Linked DNA regions of Homo sapiens: region 2 is linked to region 1. Evidence: promoter capture Hi-C in 16 types of primary human blood cells and fetal thymus (Javierre and others, 2016). All regions are on one chromosome and are shown on one strand. The core of a region is centred on a gene start or on the middle of the fragment in contact, and the rest is flanking DNA. Distances in the headings are between cores, read along the strand shown.

What was found. Contacts are between HindIII fragments. The CHiCAGO score rates a contact against its expected background, and 5 or more counts as called.
Region 2: a contact is called between a fragment that was not itself captured here and the fragment with the promoter of VIPR2 in region 1, in 1 of 17 cell types (total CD8 T cells). The highest score is 5.0, in total CD8 T cells.

Annotation. Positions count from the first base shown.
Region 1 is chr7:159,140,646-159,146,657 of GRCh38, reverse strand. It overlaps VIPR2 (vasoactive intestinal peptide receptor 2), which reads left to right and starts at 1,791. Exons shown (of 13, transcript NM_003382.5): 1 at 1,791-1,937; 2 at 4,113-4,212. The coding sequence starts at 1,887. The HindIII fragment of the contact is 10,716 bases long and covers 1-3,658 here.
Region 2 is chr7:159,316,150-159,322,212 of GRCh38, reverse strand. No RefSeq gene overlaps it. Among named protein-coding and RNA genes, the nearest start is that of VIPR2, 170 kb to the right of the region's middle. The HindIII fragment of the contact is 1,241 bases long and covers 1,571-2,811 here.

The DNA of each region.
Region 1 (6,012 bases), core at 542-3,041:
TGATGGATAGGCAGATGATAGATGACAGATAATAGATGATAGATTACAGATAGACGATCGATAGGAAGATAATAGATGATAGGTACATGACAGATCATAGATAAATGACAGAGAGGTAGATGATAGATGATAAATAGGTAGATGGTAGGTAATAGATAGGTAATAGATCGCAGAGAGATGATAGGTAGATGATAGCTGATTGATACATGATACAGAGATGATAGGTACATGATAGATGGATAGATCATAAATGACAGCAGATGATAGATGATAAATAGGTAGATGACAGGTTATAGATAGGTAAATTACAGATGAAAGATAGGCAAATGATAGATGATAGGTACATAATAGATGGATAGATCATAGATAATAGATGACAGGTAGGTGATAGAGGAAAGGTGGATGATAGATGATAGGCGCATGATGATAGATACCTGACAGATGGATAGATGAAAGGTAGATGATGGACAGGTAGATGATAGATGACAGATAATAGATGACAGATTACAGATAGATGATCGATAGGAAGATGATAGATGATAGGTACATGACAGATCGATAGATGATACGTAGATGATGGATAGGTAGATGATAGATAATGTGGATGATAAACATCAGATGATAGAAAAATCGATATCTGTGAATACGGGGGGTGGGGGATCAGAGAGAAGCAAATGATAAGCCCAATGAGGTAAATGTTAATGACCGAATCCACAAAAAGGATAAAAAGGAGTTATTTGTAATATTCTTATTCTTCTAATTTTTGTGTAAGTTTGAAATTATTTCCAAATAAAAAATTAAAACAACACGAACTTAACTTGTATCTCTCATTCCAGTGCTTTCCACTTGCTGGGGAACGCCGAGCTCTCCTGGGTTGGTCACGCGGGCGCCTTGGGAGGCCGCGCAGTCCCGCGTGGGGCGCGGCGGGGCGGCCCCAGTGGCACCGCGTGAGTCCCCGCCCAGCGTTCCCCACCCGCCGCCGCGTTTGCGGGGAGAGAATGACCCCCGTTTTGCAAACGCAGGACACAAAACCCGCCACCCAGCTGAGGCTGGGACCCACCTATACCCCCGTCTGCGTTTTTCTCCAGCTTTCTGTTCGACCTGATGTCCTCTTTGAGGCTGCGGGGATCCCCACCAAAAAGCACTCTGATTTTCTCCATTTTCAGATGCCCCAACCTAGCCCCACTGGCTACAAAGACGGCGCGCCCACCCCGGACGGGTCTCTGGCCGCTTTCTTGGGCTTCCGCAGTTGTTTAGAAAGGCAGGTACAGGCGGCCGCAAAGGCATCCGCCCCTTCCGAGCGCACACCTGGCCCGGTCCTCCTCTCCCGGCCCCGCGCCGGCCGCTCTCCCCCAGTTCTCTCTACTCGGAGCCGGGCGCGCACTGAGCACCCCGCTTCCCAGCCCCTCCGCCCACAGATCGGGGAGGCGCGGCCGGGAGGGGGGCGTGGGCCAGGGAAGAGGGGAGGAGAACGGAGAGAGAGGCTGGGGGGGTCGAGGAGACCAGAGGGAGCGCGCGCGGCGGGGACAGAGAGCCCAGGGGCGAGGAGAGGGCGCGGGGCGCAGCGGAAGGGGAAGTGGGGGGCGGTGAGGAGGGGCGCGGAGCGGGGGTTCTCGGGGGAGGAGGGAGACGAGGATTGGGGCAGCGCGGGGCGGGGACAGGGGCGGGGGGCGGAGCGGCGGGGCGCGTGGGGGACGGGCGTGCATTGAGCGCGCTCCAGCTGCCGGGACGGAGGGGGCGGCCCCCGCGCTCGGGCGCTCGGCTACAGCTGCGGGGCCCGAGGTCTCCGCGCACTCGCTCCCGGCCCATGCTGGAGGCGGCGGAACCGCGGGGACCTAGGACGGAGGCGGCGGGCGCTGGGCGGCCCCCGGCACGCTGAGCTCGGGATGCGGACGCTGCTGCCTCCCGCGCTGCTGACCTGCTGGCTGCTCGCCCCCGTGAGTGCGCCCGCGACCCCCGCCCCACGGCGCCTCGGACCCGGTTCTCCCCTTCCGAGAAGAGCGCTCCTCCCGCCGGTCTTCGCCTTCCTCCCGGGTGCTGGAGCGCGGGCGGGGTCCGGGAGAGGGAGCGGGGTCGCCCGGGGTCCGGAGCTTCCTCCCGGAGAGCGTGAAGCGCTGAGCTCCGGTCCCGCCGGGTTGCGGGACTCGGGTTGGGAGGCTGCCTGCGCCCTTCCCCGCGCCCCACCGTCCGGGGTTTGCTGGAAACGGGATCGTTTCTTCCTGGACGCGTCAACGATGAGCTCGTTCGGGGCCGTCCCGGGAGCTGGGAGCTGCGGGCGCCTGCGCGGGCTGCGCGTTTCACGGGGAGATCGGGGTTGGCGTTGGCCGCAGATGCCTCTCGGTCCCTCCCTGTACTTACTGGTTAGTTTTAGTGTCGGGGGGACGTGGCGTCGGTTAAATAAAGTTTCCTTTTGGAAATAGTTGCTTTTTCCCAAGGGCACTGGAGGAACTAACTGCTCATAAGTTTGTTGATTAAGTGCCTTCGCACATGGAGTTCTGAATTATTCCCTCTGTGAACCTTAAAAAAAAAGGAAAGAAAAAAGAAAGAAAAAAACCCGAGCCTTGTTTCTTGCTTTCCTCTTGGAGACTGAAGCGGGTTTGCGGTGCGCGCGGTTTTCGTGCGCGTCGCAGCCGAGGCAGGTCTGGATCGATCCGCGGCCCCTCCGCAGCTGGGAGGCTGCGCTGCTGACCCGACAGTGTCATTGATTAACCGGCGACGCCCGGTCTGCAGCGGGGCTCGAGCCACACTCCCTGGCCTTGCGCGGAGGCGCAGCTCGGCTTTCCTCCCTCGAGGGTGGGCGCTTTGCGGAGCGGGTCCTTGGAAAGTAACGGGTTTTATCACGGTTAATGCTGCTTTCATTGCTAAAATGTCCTAAAAGAAGTCATTGCTGTGCATATTCCAGGAACGTCAGGTATTATTAATGTCTTTTACACTTTAACAAAGTTTTTCTTTTTACATCAATATAATTTCCTTAATTCTGAAATTTAAGCCACTTACTTGTCCTGCATGAAAACAGAGGACTTGGAGCCCAAAGTCAGTGCCTGGTGCTGGTTCAGTCACGAGCAAGAAGCAAGCTCGGGGCTCTTTTAAATGGGGCTGAAGGTGGCAGAAGTTCCAGCATTGTTTTCCCCTTAATTCTGTTAGGATATTGTGTTCCTGGTTGGAACTCTCATTGACCATTTCAATAGTAAGATAACTAAACATAGATGGCCATAGTACGCCCAACAGTATGATTCTCTTTAGTTACTACTTTAGTACAAGTAGAATTTTGGTCGGTGGTGGGGGAGGGGGAAGATCAAGACCAAAAGGATGGGTGGGGGGAGCCCTCCTTAAGCCCCCAAGGGCCGCTTGGCAGGCCTGTGCTGACTTCGCGGAGGGCGTGAAGAACAAGGTAGAAACGGTGCCTTCTGAGAGGAAGCATTGTGTAGTTCTGCCTTCTTCTCACATTAGTAGACTGTTAATTACTATCTTTGTGGCACCTTTCGCTCCCCTGATGGATCCTGACTGGAAATCGCCCCCTCTTCTCTGTGGGGCCACAATGGTGTGATTCCCCCACCTCTGCCTCCCTCCTCATCTTGCTGATTTCTTTGAATATCTCTTCCACCCCAAATTCTAGTCAAAACGATTGCAGTTTTATCTGTAGTTAGAGGGTTAAGCTTTGAACATGTACCAACACCTTTAAAAATAAAGCCCTTCTATCACGGCTCTTTCCCGGGTGGAGGCCGTCCTCGGAGGAAGCGGCACAGTCCACAGGCATCCGCTTAAACCAAACCAAAGGGTGTGAAACGGAGGAGCCGGGTATGGAGAGATGAATGGAGTAAAGAGCTCTGTTGCCTCCAAATTAGTACCGATGTATTCTGTTAGTAAGTTCATTTTCCTGCTCAGAAAAAAAATTCTATTAGATTTTGTGTTTGTTTTATAATACCTTTACAAAGTAAATAGTGAAGTTTTTAAAAAATGCCAGAAAAATCAAGGTGATTGGTTTTAAATGCATTTTGGTTTGGAAGCAGTTTAAAGCTGTGAGGTTTGGGGTTGTTTTTGTAGAATTTTTGCTTGCTTTTCTTCTTCTTGTGGAATTTTTAGTTATTAATATTTCTTTTAACCGTGAACAGGTGAACAGCATTCACCCAGAATGCCGATTTCATCTGGAAATACAGGAGGAAGAAACAAAATGTGCAGAGCTTCTGAGGTCTCAAACAGAAAAACACAAAGGTAAGGCAGAGGCTTGGTGAGTAAGAACTCCCGTGACATTCTCACCCGGGAATGCGCCTCACTCAGCTGTGGTTCAGGGTCACCACCTGCATCTTAAAAAAAAAAAAAGAAAAAGAAAGGCCACTTCCCATTGTTTGTTAATGAACTACTGGTAAAACTCAGAGAGAGTTGGATAGGTAGGGTCTTCACACACACCTTTAAAAAGATAACCTTAATCCTTAGCAGTAACAGTTTCCATGGTTTGAGATGATAGCAACAGTTACTAAAACAATTTCATGGGCTTTGTTATGCTTTGCAAAAGCAGCTTCAGTTTTCCAGGGGATAAGCATTTATCTGAATTCTTGCATTTTAAATTCTTAGCTATAGGACAGATGATTTTGATCTGGTTAAGGATGGTGGGTACTTGGCAGAAAGCAAACAGGAAAATGGGACTTTGGTTGTGCTGAAGACGGGCCTGCGGTGAACACTGTGAACGTGCAGATCGCCTTCTCCGGTTTGACAGAGGCATGCTGGGCCATCATGCTCCAACAGGGCCTGCTATCAACCTGTTTATAGACTCTGCCCTGGGATAGCACCCGGCCTATAAATAGTAGCAAGGCCTTTGTCCCTCAGCTTTCTCTGCTCTTTGTCATGATTTTCTCCTCTTCAAGAAAGAAATTAAATCTGTGTTAAAACAGTCTGTTGTCCTGTAGAGGGCCTCAGATGGTGGGCTTTATTCAAGAATAGCCCTGCCCAGCAGCAACAGAATGCAAGCCACATTACAATGAGTAAAAAGAAGCATGAGAGATTAATTTTAATAGTATCCTTTATTTACCTGAATAAATCTGAATCGTTAACATTTCAACGTATAATCAACCTGAAGTTATTAATTTTGCATTCTTATTTGATGCTAAGTTGTAGAAGTCCAGTGTGTTTTTTGTGCTTACAGCACGACACAGTTTGGGCCCCATTTCAAGGTCCAGTAGCCACAGGCGGCCAGCGGTCTCCACGCTGGACAATGGGCTGTAGATTGTCACTAAAACAGGTGTCCCTGCCCGTTCCCATCCCCCTCTGAGCCACCGTTTCTTGGTCTGAAACGTGCAGGCTCTGCCTCCGAGGCTTCTTCCGGCTGTAAAGATCTGCGATTCCGCGGTGCACGCATGGTTCTGGCCCATCTTCCAGATTGTCTGGTTGAACTCTGTCCAGAGAAAGGCAAATAAAGTAACTTGGCTGAAGCCATGCTGAGAGTCTGTCCTGGGAAATGCTGATGCGGCCCAGGAGATGTGGATGGAGGAGGCAGCCAGTCTGCCACGGCAGAAGCAGCAGCGTGGCCATGGGAGGTCCTTCTTCCAGTGAAAGTTCTGAGTTAGGAAAGGTAGTCCTGAGGAGAGACAGGCTTTTAGGGTTGCCCTCCTCACCTCCAAGTTCCAAATTGTCCAGCTTCCTGTTTTCATGGGATATTAGAAATGCAGATTTATATAAAATATTCCACTTTCTTAAAAGTTTGCAAACAATACATTAAAAAAAAAAGATTTTGAGGGAGCCTGGAGCCATCTGATGGCTCTCTGCACGGTAGCTGGACCCTAGCTTAACCTGAGATTGGCGACGCCTCCTGGAACACCCTCACCCAAAGGCAGGTCAGCACATTTACACTATTCACAGGGGCTCCCCCTCAGTGGGCAGTCCGTGTGTGAGTCATATCGGGCGCTAGGGGCCGCAGGTCCCAGGCAGTCACTCAGCCCCACGCCAGCTTGAGCGGGTTCATATGCAGGCCCGAGAGCCCCTCGCAGGCAGCGTTGGTTGGGAAACTTGTCACTCGGC
Region 2 (6,063 bases), core at 942-3,441, 180 kb before region 1:
TATTGAGAAGCCCAATGTATAAGACTTAAGAAAATATAAAAGGGCTGGGACCCTAGAGTCCTGCTACCTCACTCCTCTGAGCCCTGATGGTTTCTCAGGGAAGAGTTTGAAAACCACAATCCTGTTGTTTTCCTTTTTATCTTTCATTTTAAATATAATTGTTTAGAATTATGTTAACCCATTTTATTTTGGTTGTGAAAAGATAGTGAACTAATGACTAATAGTTGACTATCCAGTTCAACTATTTCACAGATAACTTTGCCAAATTCACAGAGTTTGTCAGTGATAAAACTGGACCTGGGACCCAGGTTCCCTGACGTGCAGCCACTGAATATCCCACAATTCCTGATGTCCATTAGCTTTGACTGAAAAAAAACCCACATAATTTATTGGGAAAAAGACCATAGTAAACTCCAGTTTTAGTCATCTCTATTTCAAAATTTGTAATTATGTCTTCACTGTAGTTATAAATTCATCTTAGTTGTTTGTTGGTTGTATTATACTTTTGTTGATATGCTTTTCTGATCTTCATTAAGGTGATGGCCAGTCATAGATTATTGTTTACAGCCAACACCATAATTGTCTATTTTAATAATGGTAAATAATGAAACCCAGTGCAAATCTGTCAAAGCACAGGCCATTTGACCCAGCCTTGCAACCCCCATAGCTACATTTTCAGTCACGTGGACTGACAGGTGGTTACACTTCACACTGAATATACACAAATGCATGACTGACACTTCCCATTTGGGCCTCCCAGGGTGACTTGTTCTGGTTTTCACCTTCCCCACTTGATCTTATGTAGTAAGGAGGCAAGAAATGCCCAAGCAACTCAAATTCTGTTTTACCTGTTTGAACCATAACTATTGAGACAGACTGAAGTGTTTGAAGGAATGACATAGAAGGTCTATGGATTTTTGCGTGGTGCATGTGATGCCATCAAATTAGATTCCTCCCTTGTGTGTCCATAGACCTGTGCTTTAAAAGACCTTTCAAATGGAGAAAAACAAAAACCATGGGTGGAGATGCTGCGAAACAGCTCTGCTCAAACAGGCTTCCATCCCTGCTGCACAGCTCTCCCAGCCTCTTCCCTGCTCTATTCTCAAGGTCTTGGCCCTCAGCTCAACAACTCATTCTTGCAAGAGTCAGCTGAATAATTAGCAATGCCAAACAGAGTGAGTCATGGGAGGTAGCTGCTTCTCAGGAATATCTGTGTTCTGACATATACATATATTTTTTTTCTTTTTTTTTTTTTGAGATGGAGTCTCACTCTGTCACCCAGGCTGGAGTGCAGTGGCATGATCTCAGCTCACTGCAACCTCTGCCTCCCAGGGTCAAGCGATTCTCCCGCCTCAGCCTCCCAGGTAGATGGGATTACAGGTACCCACCACCAAGCCCGGCTAATTTTTGTATTTTTAGTAGAGACAGGGTTTCACCATATTGGTCAGGCTGGTCTCGAACTCCTGACCTCACGTGATCTGCCTGCCTTGGTCTGCCACAGTGCTGGGATTACAGGCATGAGCCACCAGGCCCAGCCAGATATGTTTTTAAATAGTGGTAATACAAAGCTTTTAAATTCCATTATGCACATCTCTAACATGATGGCAGGTGTAGAAATTGATATCTCAGTGCAGAGAGCCTGTGAAACATAGTAGTGCTAGCCCAAGCTCACTGCAAGTGAAGGTGGGGAAGTCATAACCCAGTACAGAAGAGTTAGACTATGGGTAATGAGGTTTCTGCAGAACCTCCAAGATAATGCAGAGACATTCAGTTAAGAGCATTGGGGATTTACCTGTATACAGGTATATGCTGAGACAGGTCCCAGTGAGGACAACCTCTCCACCATGGTCTCACACTCCTGAAAGCAAACCCATGAGGTATGATGAGGGAAAGTGGTTTGTTCAAATAGGTCTTTGGTTTGTCAGTTTAAAACTGGTTACCACAGAGTTCAGTGTGGGTCACCTGCTGGAACTTTAGTCTGTCTGTGGATTTTAGGGACTGGCTGAAACTTCACATTTAGAAAGTCAATCCAGATGATACAGTTGAGTCACAGACCACAAGCAGTCATGTCGGGCTGTTTCTCTGCCGACCCTGATCAGCTCTCTGAGTGTGGCTATTGTTCACGGTCCTGACCACTTGGTTTGTGTAATTTCTTGCACCCTCCGGATTAAAAATTCTGAGAATCCATAATTTCATTAAACTCAGGTTTTATCCTATCCAAGATTTATTCCAAATGACAGCGTGCTGGAGTCATGCTAGGACATGCTAGTCAGTGCTGGGGCTAGAGTGACTCACTGCTGCACTGTGCTCCCCTCCTTCCTGTGTTGGGGGCTCCACTTTTACCCCTGTCCTCTTCCCACATCCCAAACTCCCACCTGGCCCCTAACTGTTCAAGGGATCACAATCAGGGCATGTCTCCCACATGGCTTCAGATGCAAAAAATTAACCCCCCCACCAAGTAAAAGCATATTGACCTCACATTTCATTTTCCAAGAGCTCAGTCTTTTGCTAAATAATTGGAGATCAAGTTTCTGGCTATTAACAAATACAAAGGCATTACTAATGGAAACTCTTAATATATGACCACCTCCTAAACTTTTTTACGTTTTGAAAGAAAAATTCCTGGGACAAATGTCTAAGCCCCAAAGAAATAGCTCTCCTGAGTTGCATATTGAGGCACTCAGGCAGAACTGATAGAGGCATCATTGTTAATACAGTAACAACAGATACAAATCCCGGAGTATAATTACATGTCAGGCCCTATACTAAGTGCTTCTTATGTAATATATCAGGAAATTATCATGAGAAGCTTATGAGGCAGATATTATTATTCCTGTTTGTACAGATAGAAAAAAAGATGCCCAACAATGTTAAGTAGACTGCATAGGTCATACAGCTAACAAATGGCAGAATTGGGCCAAACATTTAACATCCACATGTTAGTGTCTTTTAGCAAGAGATTTTCTACAGAGAAGTCAAATTAGATCACAGGTATTTGCCTCTTGTGCTTAAACAGGCTCTTATCAGAGCTAGCCTTTGGCTTTTTTCCATGAGAACATTTTACTGAGTTTATTTTGCTATCTTGATCTACAATGCCTAGGAACTCTAAGAACCGGGGATGGAAAGAAAGTCCACTCCCTGAGATGATTTCTTGTCACCTTTTGGCTACATCCTGGATCTCAGAACCAGGCCTGCTTTTCCTGGCTATACATGGCAAATCCAACTGAGAAATTTAAATGTTTGTTTTATGTTTGAGAAACAGGACCTAATATGAATGTTTGTTCTAGTTGTGTTGACTTAATGCTGATAGAGTTAAATTTGAGCTCTCAGGATCTATTTTTGTACTCTTTGTCAAACGTGTTCCTTCTCCATTGGTCTCCATTGGCTTGCAGTAGTGGTGCTGCTCTGTGTCTATTTCACACCTTAGAGCTCCATTTATTAATGCCTTCAGAATCTTCTTTATGTGCCTTCTATTTTCTTTGTGTGATGCGTGGGGCAGAGTCAGCTCTGGCTAAAATGTCAAAACGAAGAATCCTTAGTGCAGCTCATGTATCCATGCTGAGTAAATGCCAAGAGTGGCTGTGAACCTTCCCTTGACTCTCCTCCACAGCTGCCACTCAACCAAGACCCTGCATTCTAAGGGTAGTCAGTCTGTTAGTCACATGGAACTAATGCACAAGAAGATTGGATGGATTATGAGAAGCTAAACTTTCCCAAGAATATTTACATTTTTAAAGAGGGAATATGTCACAATAAATGAGCTCCTGCCTGATAAACATCCTGCCTAAAACCCTTCCAACCTATTGTTGCTTTGCTTCAAGAAGAATACAATGATTGGTGGAGCTTGAGGCAAAGCGACAAAGCTTGAGGAAAGGTTTTAGGCAAGATGTTTATACTTCTCTTGTACTTCTCAAGTTAGTTATTGTACTTTTCCACTCCAGAATTTCTGTTTCTTAATAATTTCAATTGTGTTATATTTTCTATTTGGTATGACATTATTCTCATGCTTTCCTTCAGTTCTTTAAGAATTTTTTAAAATTTCTTTGAGTAGATTGGGAATATCTGGTTTAAAGTCTTTCATGAGTAAGTTCATCATGTGAGCTTCCACAGGGACACTTTCCATTGATTGCTTTTTCCTCCTGCATATGGGCTGTACTTTCTTGTTTCTTTTTGCGTCTTGCAATTTTTTCTTAAAAATTGACATTTTAAATATTATAGTGTGAAAACCCCAGGAATCAGATTTTGCAACTTCCCCAGGGTTTGTTATTGTTGCTGGGGCATTTTTTGGTAGCTTTTATTGTTTGTTTACTGACTTTAAAGAAATAATTCTGCCAAGTCTGTATTCTCTTTCATATATGAGGACTGAAGTCTCTACTTGGCTAGCTTAAAGGTCAGATAATGAATGGATAGTGATTTCCTTAAGTGCTTGGAACCAATAAGTCTTTCACTATTTGCTGAGGGGGTCTGTATGAGTGATGGGGCACACTTCAAACATTAGTAGGTAATGAACAATTCTGCCTTAGCCTTCCCTTGCTGTTTGCTCAACATATTAAGGTCAGCCCAAGATGAGAGTTGAGGCTTTCTCATGTCTTTCTGAGTATGCACTTGTTAAAAGAAAAACCTTAGACAAATTTAATTTAACAAAATTTAATTAAGCAAAGAATGATTCATGAATCAGGCAGCCTCCCAAACCACAGCAGGCTCAGAGAGACTCCAGCACAGCCATGTGGTAGAAGAAGATTTATGGGCAGAAAATGGAAGGTGACAGACAGAAAACAGAAGTGAAGTACAGCAACAGCCAGATTGATTACAGCTTAGAGTTTGCCTTATTTGAACACAATTTGAACAGTTGGCCCACTTTAATTGGCCAAAACTTGGTGATTGGCACAAAAATAGGCTAGTCTGTTTATATATCCAGTTAGGTTTCAGTTTACTGTGTATAGAAACCTTAAGGGTGAACTTAAAATATATAAGGAGGCAGCTTTAGGCTAAGCTTAATTTAACAAATTCCCCCTTTTGATCATCCCCTTGATTTTGAGAGATTGCCCAAAACATTAGTAATTGACGTCACTATCATCAATGTAAATGTACTGATTTGGTCTTGAAATCCACTGAATAATAGCAGAACAGAGGGTTTTGTAAGGTAGGTACAAGGACATCAGGTTATTTTTTTTGGTAAGGGTTAGAGCAGAGGGTACTTCCTTGCGCTGGACTCTCCTGTTTACAGGAGAGAAACAAAACCTGATCAGTTCTAGGACCTATCTCTTTCCTTAAAGTCTGAGTTAAATTATGCCATATGTAGTATGAGTGACTCCATTTTGGTTTGGTCTGGTCTGTTGGGCCTAGTGTATGAGCTCAGTTCAAAACAATGGCCTCCCATAATTTTGTTTAAGAATTACACCCTTTTTGTCAGGTTCTCACTTAGGTGAGAGTATGATTGGTATGATTTGGCTCTGTGTCCCCACCCAAATCTCATGTTGAATTATAATTCCCAATGTTGGGGGAAGGACCTGGTGGGAGGTGGGATTGGATCATGGGGATGGATTTTCCTCTCATTTTTCCTGTGATAGTGAGTGAGTTCTCATGAGACCTGATGGTTTAAAAGTGTATGTCACTTCCCCCTTTGCTCTCTCTCTCTCCTGTTGCCATGTGAAGATGTGTTTGCTTCCCCTTCACCTTGTGCCATGATTGTAAGTTTCCTGAGGTCTCCCCCACCATGCCTCCTGAACAGCCTGCAGAACTGTGAGTCAACTAAACCTCTTGTATTTATTATTTATTTATTTATTTATTTATTTATTTATTTTATTTTTTTTTTTGAGACGGAGTCTCGCTCTGTCGCCCAGGCTGGAGTGCAGTGGCGGGATCTCGGCTCACTGCAAGCTCCACCTCCCGGGTTCACGCCATTCTCCTGCCTCAGCCTCCCAAGTAGCTGGGACTACAGGCGCCCGCCACTATGCCCAGCTAATTTTTTTTTGTATTTTTAGTAGAGACGGGGTTTCACCGTTTTAGCCGGGATGGTCTCGATCTCCTGACCTCGTGATCCGCCCGCCTCGGCCTCCCAAA